Regions from separate parts of the Homo sapiens genome. Here region 2 is linked to region 1. Evidence: promoter capture Hi-C in human tissues and cell types (Jung and others, 2019). All regions are on one chromosome and are shown on one strand. Each heading gives the region's core, a stretch centred on a gene start or on the middle of the fragment in contact. The rest is flanking DNA. Distances are from core to core; before and after follow the strand shown. Region 1 holds the start of GPR3 (G protein-coupled receptor 3). Region 2 overlaps WDTC1 (WD and tetratricopeptide repeats 1).

Region 1 (5,361 bases), core at 2,601-5,100:
CTGGGCTTCACCCAAGAAATGGAGACATGGTCCCTCACTTTTGCAGGTTGTTGTAAGCCTTGGGCTCTGGCTGGGCACCTGGTAGGTGGGAAGGGTTGGAGGAGGTGTCAAGGAGGTAGGGACAGAGGGCATGAGGAGAATAGGAGAGAAGGAACTATCTCTTCCTTTAGAGAGCAAGTATGCGGGGAATGGAGACCTGATTGGTATGAGCACTTTTGGTGCGTGAGGGAGAGCACATGAGGTTCACGTGAAAACCCATAGCCCCCCTTTAGTCTCTTGGCTCTCCTGGGTTTCTCGGGGTTAGAAATGTCACTGCATGCCGGGTGCGGTGGTTCATACCTGTAATCCCAGCACTTTGGGAGGCTGAGCAGGGTGGATCACCTGAGGTCAGGAGTTCAAGACCATCCTGACCAATATGGTAAAACCCTGTCTCTACTAAAAATACAAAAAAAAAAAAAAAAAAAAAAGCTGGGCATGGTGGCGGGCACCTGTAATCCCAGCTACTTGGGAGGCTGAGGCAGGAGAATCGCTTGAACCCAGGAGGCAGAGGTTTCAGTGAGCCGAGATTGCACCACTGCACTCCAGCCTGGGCAACAAGAATAAAACTGTCTCGGAAAAAAAAAAAAAAGGAAAGAAAAGAAATGTCACTGCACTCTCTTTTCCTCTCTGGCTGCCTTAGGATCAACTTCCCTTGCAAACAACAGGATAACTATCAGGATCAGGAAGTTCATGACCAATACTTCAGTGGAAATGATGGTCTTCCGTGTCCTTCACCCTGGGAAGACAACAATACCTAAGACAGAAAACTAGTCAAAAAGTAGAAGACCACTCTGGATTTCATCTTTGTATTTAGAACCCATTTTGGGCTGGGCACAGTGGCTCATGCCTGTAATCCCAGCACTTTGGGAGGCCAAGGTGGGCAGATCACTTGAACCTACGAGTTCAAGACCAGCCTGGGCAATGTGGCGAAACCCTGTCTCTACAAAAATTACACGCCTTAGCCAGGCGTGGTGACACGTGCTTGTAATCCCAGTTACTGTGGAGGCTGAGATGGGAGGATTGCTTGAGTCCAAGAGGTTGAGGCTACAGTGAGCATTGATTGCACCACTACACTCCAGCCTGGGTGACAGACTGAGATCCTGTCTCAAAAAACAAACAAACGAAAAAAAAAGACAGAACCCATTTTGGTGGTGTTAAGACAACTGGCTTGGTTATGATTTATGATTCCTTGGATTATGCAAAGAAAAATTAATCCAAACACAGACTTGCAAGACATAAAAGAAAAAGACCTCAAGAAAACAGCTAAAGGAACTCAAGAACAGAATGACGACAGCCAGGGAGTCACAAGAGTGTGGTGCTGGTGCTGGCAAACAGGAATGGCTTTATCTGCAGCAATGGTGAAGATTTTTCACCAGAGGATCAATAAGCTACGAAAACTTAAAAAATATATAATTGCCATTCAGAGTAGTAGAAGATAGTCCCTGATACCCCCCTTTGATGCCAACCTCCCAGCAGCCTTCACCCATCGCAGAGACCAGAACTCTGTAGGGACCCAGCTCTGATGGGGGAGTAAATGGATCCCTGACCCTGAGTCTTGGGGCCCTGATGCCCTTGGATCCTCTCTCTGACACCCCCACCTTCCTGGGCACCAGGCATATTACTATTCTCTCTGTTTTCCTTTTTTCCTCTGGTTGTTCCCTTTTAGGTCAATCATCCAGTCCATGATTATTTCTTCAATACCCATTACATATCAGGCACTGTTCTCTAGCAGAAATGGGACATAGTCAGTATCCTCTTGGAGCTTAGATTCTAGTGGGGCTGACATGTAGTAAAACAAACAAACATGAATTCATTTATAATTTCAAGAGTGCTTCATCCTCCAAAAATGAATAAATCAAGAGAAGGGGAGGGAGAGTGATGGGGAGGCCAGTGGCGATCTGAGAGTTCAGAGCAGCCTGTTTCAGAAGTAATTCGGGAGCAGAGACCTGGATGAAGAGAAGGGTTGTTGTCAGAGGGGTCAGGTGCAAGAGCCCAGGAGGAGGAGCCCCTGAAGCCACTCCTCACTCTCTGCTCCCGCCCCTGGGTGACATTATTTACCCCTAAAACATCAGTTGCCACCTGCATGCCTACACCTCCCAGGTGTCCCTCATTATCCAGCTGTAACATTGATGGCCAATGGCAAGTAGAACCCACTCAACAACCCCATGAGGCCGGTACTAATATTATCCCTGTGTTTTAGATGAGGAAATAGGCACAGAGAGCTGAAGAAACTCTCCAAAGTCACCCAGCTAGGAAATGGAGAAACTGAGATTGGACACTTCCACCCCCTAAGCCCCCTAAACTCACCACATCCAACCTGAAATGAATCCTCTTCTCCAGCTCCGACCCCCTCCTCCTCCCATGTTCCCTGCCACTTGACCTTCTGCTGCCTCACACTCAAACCCAAAACCTGCCTGGTGGAGGCTGACCATGGGGGCTGCAGTGATGGTGCTGTGATGGGGGTGTCCAGTGGGGCCTGGGATCCTCAGGCCTCTTAACCTCATCTTCCCCTCCCACAGGCCTGCATGATTCCAGGGAGCATCAAGGCAAGAGACACAGGGAGAAGGAGCAGCCAGTCCCCCTGCCGCAGGACTGGCCACATCTGTCACATCTGGAGAAGTCTGCCCAGAGTGGTTCCCCTGGACTAAGGGCAGATGGCGTTGGGGAAGAGGGAGCTCTTTCTCCTTGCTCCACCCATCAGGATGCCTAAAATAGGAGGCTGAGAGGGGCCTGCCCTGAGGACTGAGCTGCCAGGCTTTCTGCTTCCAAGTTCTTCCCGGCTCCCCATCTCCTCCTGCTTCAGGGAAGTGCACCCCTCACCCCCTCCACGCTGGCTTTCTAGATACTGGAATAAATAATTCAGGTTTTGAAATCTTGCCAGGCCCACCCCTCCGGTGCTGTGAGGGCGCTATTGGGCTGACATGAGTGACGTCACCCAGCTCTTATCCCAGCCCCGGCATCACGGGACTTGCCCTGGCAGCAACTTACCTGCCTGGTCACTGTCAGTCCAGACCCTCTACCCTGTGCCCCTCACCCTGGAGCCCACTCACCACAGCCACCTGCTATCTTCGTTCCAGGGCCCCACAGTCCTCATGGCTTAGCATTGTCGCTTCAGTACCCCAGCCATTCTGACAGGGTAATGGTGACCTGAAGTCACCTGGACACTCCATGTTCCCAGGCCGCTGCCTCTGCCATCCCGGGGTCCCTGAACTCCCCCCTGCTGCATAGTCACCCTGACACTGCCATGGTTGCCCTGAGGGCTTCCCCTCTACCGTTAGCGTCCCACGGCCATCACCCCCCACCCCAAGATTCTGTCACCATGCTAATGTCGTCACTGCCACCCACCTCCCCGCTCCCTCGTGCTCCCTGTCATCGTCACCTCAGGGCCCCATCATCTTGGAAACCCTGTCATTCTCACCAGGGAAGCCCAACCAGCCCCATCACAAGCTCTTCCTTCGTCACCTGGATCTCGTCAGCCTCTCTGCCACCCAAGGGTCCCATCACCCCACAGCCTAGCCGGGCCCCCTTTCCACTCTTCCACCACGTTCCCTGCAGCCTCTCTGAGACTTCAAGGCTCTCGCACCGGCGCCTCTGAAACCCCCGGCCCGCAGAGGGCGCCGCGTCAAGGACAGCGCGGGCGGACTCGGGAGGGGGCGGGGCCGCAGCCACGGTCGCTTTTTATGAATGGGGGAGCGGGCGGTGCGAGGCCTTATTACTATGCCGCGCAACGCGCGCTGCGCCCCAGCGCGCCGCGCCCATTGGCTGATCGGACCGCTGACGTCACCGAACCGGTGGCCGGGGGCGGGGCGGGGTGACTCACGCCGCTTCTCCCGCGGCCGCGGGGGCTTCTCGGGGTCCACGCACGCCCTGCGCCGCCAGGACCCGAGCGGAGCCTCCCCGCGGCCCGGCCGCGCCTGGTCCTGAGCGGTGAGTAGCGGGCCCCGCCGCGGGCACCAGGGGTCCTGAAGGGCACGCAGGATGCTGGGGCACTGGGCCGGCGGAAGGCTCCTAGTGGCCGGCCGGGGTTCGAGTTCGAGGTGGGAATTCTGGGTTTAGGCGATTCTGGGTTAGCAGGCTTGGGCCCAAGTGCTCGAGTGCTGGGGTTGAGTTGGATGACCCGGCGAAGGGTAAGCATTCCTGCAGGGACCCGAGGCCCTGGAGGGACTGATGGTCATCTGAGGTTAAGCCGGCAGGAGGCGTCTGGGGCAGGGACCCAGGGGTCCGAACAGCAGGAGGTGTCCAATTTAGGAATCCAGGTATCCAGGCAGGAGGCAGAGTCAGGCCCAAAATCCAGGTGTCCGGGCAGAAGGAGGCATCTGACTCAGGGATCCAGTCTTCCAGCAGGGGGGTCTGCCCAGAGACCTAGAGATTCAGGCGGAAAGAAGGGTCCAGCCAGGAACAGAAGTCTGGGAGGGTGGGGGGTGGGGGGCTGAGTTCCCAGGTGTTACCGCGGGAGTGCGGGGTGATGGCTGGCGGGAGCTTCACGCGCATTCCCTGGGGGCGGAGTCTAAGGCTGGCAGTACTGAAAATCGTGAGGGGTCTGGGAGCCTCAGGCACGAGCTAGCATCATCATCTCTGATGGGAGGGAGCGGAGCTGCTCAGTCTCCCTGATGGGGTAGATGTTTCCCTACCCCAATCTTGAGCCTTCGGGGGCATCCCCTGGATCCTATGGCCCTCTTCCACTTATAGTACCCCTTCTTCTGTCTCTCCTCTGGTCACACACGTGGGAAAAAGAGACCTGCAGGACCTAGGACAGGGATCCCCAGGAAGAGACCCCTGTTTAGAGGCCTGGGGGCATTGGAGGGGACAGCGGTATCCTGGGAAGAGCCCCAGGGCATGAATGTGGGGATAAGGCATTGGGACCCTATCAGGTATCCTGAGGAGAGACTCCCACCACGTATCCTGAGAAGCACCTCACCCCCTCCAGACCCCAACTCCCATCACCCAGCTTGGTCAGCTTCTCACAAGGCCTTTCTCCTGCAGGTACCATGATGTGGGGTGCAGGCAGCCCTCTGGCCTGGCTCTCAGCTGGCTCAGGCAACGTGAATGTAAGCAGCGTGGGCCCAGCAGAGGGGCCCACAGGTCCAGCCGCACCACTGCCCTCGCCTAAGGCCTGGGATGTGGTGCTCTGCATCTCAGGCACCCTGGTGTCCTGCGAGAATGCGCTAGTGGTGGCCATCATCGTGGGCACTCCTGCCTTCCGTGCCCCCATGTTCCTGCTGGTGGGCAGCCTGGCCGTGGCAGACCTGCTGGCAGGCCTGGGCCTGGTCCTGCACTTTGCTGCTGTCTTCTGCATCGGCTCAGCGGAGATGAGCCTGGTGC
Region 2 (5,400 bases), core at 2,122-4,621, 140 kb before region 1:
AGAGAGCAAAGGGTTTAAGGTATTTCTTCTTTATTGACATATAATTCACGTACCATAAAATAGACAGTCTCTTAAATTATACAATTCATTGGTTTTAATATAGTCACAAAGTTGTGCAACTTGTCACCACTATCTAATTCCAAAACATTTTCATCACCTAAAAAAGAAACACATACCCTTGAGCTATCACATTCCTCCCCAACACTCCCATCTCTTTCTGTCTCTGTAGGTTTTCCTATTCTTGACATTTCACATAAATAGAACCATACGACATGTAGTCTTTTGTGACTGGCTTCCTTCACTTAGCAGAATGTTTTGAAGTTTCTTCCATGTTGTTGTATGAATTAGTACCTCATTCCTTTTTATGGCTGCATAATATTCCATTACAGTGGATATTAACACATTATATTTATTCATCAATTGATGGCCATTTGGGTTGTTTCTAATTTGGGCTATTATGAATAATGCTGCTCTGAGTATTCATGTACAGCTTTTTGTATGGACATGTGTTTTCTTTCCTTTTTTTTTTTTAGACTGAGTCTTGCTTTGTCACTCAGGCTGGAGTGCAATGGCACGATCTGGGCTTACTGCAACCTCCGCCTTCCAGGTTTAAGCGATTCTTCTGCCTCAGCCTCCTGAGTAGCTGGGATTACAGGTGCCCGCCACCACGCCCGGCTAATTTTTGTATTTTTAGTAGAGATGGGGTTTCACCATGTTGGCCAGGCTGGTCTTGAACTCCTGACCTCAGGTGATCTGCCCACCTCGGCCTCCCAAAGTGCTGGGATTACAGGCGTGAGCCACCACGCCCAGCCATTTTTTTTTTTTTTTTTTTTTCGAAACAGGGTCTCACTCTGTCACCCAGCCTGGAGTCCAGTGCCACAAACATAGCTCACTGCAGCCTCAAACTCCTGGGCCTAAGTAATCCTCCTACCTCGGACTCCCAAAGTGCTGGGATTACAGACGTGAGCCACCGCACCCAGCCTATTTCTGCATTATTATTTATTTAATTAATTAAACTTTTTTTTGAGACAGAGTCTCCCTCTGTTGCCCAGGCTGGAGCAGAGTGGCATGATCTCAGCTCACTGCAACCTCTGCCTCCTGGGTTTAAGCGATTCTCCTGCCTCAGCCTCTCGAGTAGCTGGGATTACAGGTGCCTGCCACCACGCCTGGCTAATTTTTGTATTTTTAGTAGAGACGAGGTTTTACCACGTTGGCTAGGCTGGTCTTGAACTTCTGACCTTAAGTGATCCACCTGCCTCAGCCTCCCAAAATGCTGGGATTAGAGATGTGAGCCACTGTGCCCAGCCTTGTGCAGGTTTTTTATACAGGTAAACTCATGTCATGGTGGTTTGTTGTGCAGATTATTTTGTTACCCAGGTACTAAGCCTAGTACTCAATAGTTATTTTTTCTGATCCTCTTCCTCTTCCCACCCTCCACCCTCAAGTAGGTTCCAGTGTCTGTTGTTCCCTTCTTTGTGTCCATGAAGTCTCATCATTTAGCTTCCACTTACAAGTTAGAACATGCCATATTTGGTTTTCTGTTTCTGCTTTAGTTTGCTGAGGATAATGGCCTCCGGCTCCATTCATGTTCCTGCAAAGGATATGATCTCATTCTTATGGCTGCATGGTCATTCCATGGTGTACATGTACCACATTTTCTTTCTTTTTTTTTTTTTTTTTCTTTGTGAGATGGAGTTTCACTCTTGTTGCCCAGCCTGGAGTGCAATGGCGTAGTCTCAGCTCACTACAACCTCTGCCTCCCGGGTTCAAGTGATTCTCCTGCCTCAGCCTCCCAAGTAGCTGGGATTATAGGCACCTGACACCATGCCTGCCTAATTTTATAGTGTTAGTAGAGACGGGGTTTCTCCACGTTGGCCAGGCTGGTCTTGAACTGCTGACCTCAGGTGATCTGCCCGCCTCGGCCTCCCAAAGTGCTGGGATTACAGGCGTGAGCCACTGTGCCCAGCCTGTACCACATCTTCTTTATCCCATCTGCTGTTGATGAGCATTTAGGTTGATTCCATGTCTTGCTTATTGTGAATAGTGCCACAATTAACATACTGCACAGTGTGTGTGTCTTTATGGTGAAACTATTTATATTCCTTTGGGTATATACCCAGTAATAGGATTGCTAGGGCAAATGGTAGTTCTGTTTTTAGCTCTTTGAGGAATCTTCACACTGCTTTCCACAATGGTTGAACTAATTTACACTCCCACTAACAGTGTAAAAGTGTTGCCTTTTCTCTGCAACCTCACCAGCATCTGTTATTTTTTGACTTTTTAATAATAGCTATCCTGACTAGTGTGAGATGGTATCTCATTGTGGTTTTGACTTGGATTTCTCTATTGATCAGTGATACTGAGCTTTTTTTCATATGCTTGTTGGCCACATGTATGTCTTCTTTTGAAAAGTGTCTGTTCATGTCCTTTGCCCACTTGATGGGATTGTTTTTTTCTTACACATTTGTTTAAGTTCCTTATAGATGCTGGATATTAGACCTTTGTCAGATGCATAGTTTGCAAGTATTTTCTCCCATCCTATAGGTTGTCTGTTAATGATACACTTTAAAATGATTAGTTTCATCTTATGTGAATTTCACTTAAAAACTTTTTATTATTATTTTTTTTTATTCAGAGTCTTGCCCTGTCTCCCAGGCTGGAGTGCAGTGGTGTGATCTTGGCTCACTGTAGCCGAAACCTCCTGGGCTCAAGCAGTCCTCCCACCTCAGCCTCCCAAGTAGCTGGGACTGTAGGTGTGCCACCACGCCCAGCTAATTTTTTAACTTTTTTTAGAGACAGGGTTTCACCATGTTTCCCAGCTGGTCCCAAACTCCTGGGCTCAAGCAATCTTCCCACATTGGTCTCCCAAAGTGCTGGGATTATAGACGTGAGCCACTGCACCCAGCCTTAAATTTTTTAAAAAGAAACCATATCCCGGCCCAGCTCAGTGGCTCACACCTGTAATTCCAGCACTTTGGGAGGCTGAGGCAGACAGATCACTTGAGGCCAGTAGCTCAAGACAAGCTTAGCCAACATGGTGAAACCCCATCTCTACTAAAAATACGAAAAATTAGCCGAGCATAATGGTGCATGCCTGTAATCCCAGCTACTCCGGAGGCTGAGGCATGAGAATCACTTGAACCTGAGAGGCAGAGGCTGTAGTGAGCCAAGATGGCACCACTGCACTCCAGCCTGGGCAACAGAGTGAGACTGTCTCAAAAAAAAAAAAAAGCCATATCCTTTAGCTGTCACTTCTCTATCCCCCCATTCCCTTCAGCCCTAAGCAACCATTAATCTACTTCCTATTTCTATTCTATTTTGTTCTATTTTATATAAATGGAATTATGCAATATGTAGGCTTCTTTCACTTGGCATAATATTTTTAGAGTTCCCCTATGTTGTAGCATGTATCAGTACTTCATTCCTTCTTATGGCCAAATAACATTCCATTGTATGGATATACCACATTTTGTTTATCTATTTATCAGTTGATGGATGTTTCCACCTTTTGGCTATTATGAATAATGCTGCTCTAAACTTTTTTTTTTCTTTTTGAGACTGAATCTCACTCTCACTAAGGCTGGAGTGGCATGATCATAGCTCACTGTAACTTCAAACTCCTGGGTTCAAGCAATCTTTCTGCCTCAGCCTCCTGAGTAGCTAGGGCTGTAGATGCATGGCCACCACACCTGGCTAATTTTATTTTTTGTAGAGACGGGATTTTGCTGTGTTGCCCAGCCTGGTCTTAAATTCTTGGCCTCAAGTGATTCTCCCTCGGCCTCCCAAAGCGCTGGGATTACAGGTGTGAGCCAGTGCACCTGGCCTTGCTATAAATACATTCTTGCACAGATTTTTGTGTGGCATTTCTTCACTTTTAACAACGTCACGATTTTCCTTCTGATCTTGCGTTTCAAACCTAACAGGTGATAAAGACATCCTATACTCTGCCCCTGCCATCCTACAATGAAATACCCCTTGTCAGCTTCATCTCTGGTAGGGAAATTGGGGCGGGGGAAATGTTATAATCCATGCTACTGAGCAAATATAACAGGGGTTACCAGGTTTTAGTAGAATTCAAATTTAGCTAACATTTGTTGAGCACCTACTACAATCTAGATACGATACTGTTATGTACTTTCTTTTTTTCTTTTTTGGAGATAAGAGTCTCTCTGTATCCTCTAGGCTGGAGTGCAGTGGTGCAATCTCGGCTCACTGCAACCTCCGCCTCCCAGGTTCAAGCGATTCTCCTGCCTCAGCCTCCCAAGTAACTTTGTATTTTTAGTAGAAACGGGGTTTTGCCATGTTGACCAGGCTGGTCTCAAATTCCTGACCTCAGGTGATCCACCCACCTCAGCATCCCAAAGTGCTGGGATTACAGGCGTGAGCCACCACACCCAGCCCTGTTATGTATTTTCATATATATTTTATCATGTATTCACAACAACCCATTAAAGTAGGTGTTAGCATCCCCATTTTACAAATGAGGAAATTGAAACTCAGAAAATTTAAGTAACTTCCCTATGTAGGTACTAATTGGTACACTGAGGGGGAAGCTGGAATTCAGGCCCAGGTGCCTAAGTATTATATGTTTTTCTCTTTCTGCTGCGTTATCCAGAGCCAAACAAGGACTATAGCACACATGAAAGGAGTGGTTCTTCATATTTGGATATTACCATTCAATTCTTGGTTCTAGATGAGTGATCTTCACAAATGTACTTTGTTCTAAGTCATGTTAACCTCAGGCTATTATATTACTGATCACCTTGGCATTATGATTAGACTAATTCCTCCAAATCGAGCTGTTAATTGACTTGTTTTTTTTTTTTTTCTTTTTTGAGACAGAGTCTCACTCTGTCACCCAGGCTGGAGTGCAGTGGTGTGATCTTGGCTCAATGCAACCTCTGCCTCCCAGGTTCAAGCGATTCTCCTGCCTCAGCCTCCTGAGTAGCTGGGATTACTGGCGTGCACCACTACTCCTGGCTAATTTTTTTTTTTTTTTTTTTTTTTTTTTTTTTTTTTTTAGTAGAGACAGGGTTTCACCATATTGGCCAGGCTGGTCTCAAACTCCTGACCACAGGTGATCTGCCCACCTTGGCCTCCCAAAATGCTGGGATTACAGGTGTGAGCGACCACACCTAGCCAGACTTCTATTTTCTTGTTAGTATCCTTTAAAATCATAGAGATAGGCTTATAGAAGAAAGTTTTCCAGTATTCTAAGTTAAAAGTTTATAGAAATGATGGGGTTACATGGTGATATGCTAGGCATTTTAGAGCTCCAGGAATAGAATACCTTTTGGGAGGTGTAACATCTGCATAGCAACTCATATTTTCTTTGTAACATTGTGTCTTGTGTCTTCTTCTGTGCCTTAAGTATTTTTATATTTTTCATAATCTCAGCTC

What was found. The method cuts DNA at HindIII sites, captures the fragments that hold promoters and counts their contacts. A contact is called where the count stands out against the background at its distance.
Region 2: a contact is called between a fragment that was not itself captured here and the fragment with the promoter of GPR3 in region 1, in 1 of the 25 tissues and cell types used here (spleen).

The regions. Positions count from the first base shown.
Region 1 is chr1:27,388,772-27,394,132 of GRCh38, forward strand. GPR3 (G protein-coupled receptor 3) reads left to right here and starts at 3,851. Exons shown (of 2, transcript NM_005281.4): 1 at 3,851-3,966; 2 at 5,023-5,361. The coding sequence starts at 5,028. RefSeq lists enhancers at 2,467-3,003, 3,004-3,540, 4,078-4,613 and a silencer at 3,555-4,054. The HindIII fragment of the contact is 10,052 bases long and covers 1-5,361 here.
Region 2 is chr1:27,246,050-27,251,449 of GRCh38, forward strand. All of the region lies in intron 1 of WDTC1 (WD and tetratricopeptide repeats 1), which reads left to right. Among named protein-coding and RNA genes, the nearest start is that of WDTC1, 14 kb to the left of the region's middle. The HindIII fragment of the contact is 4,416 bases long and covers 1,164-5,400 here.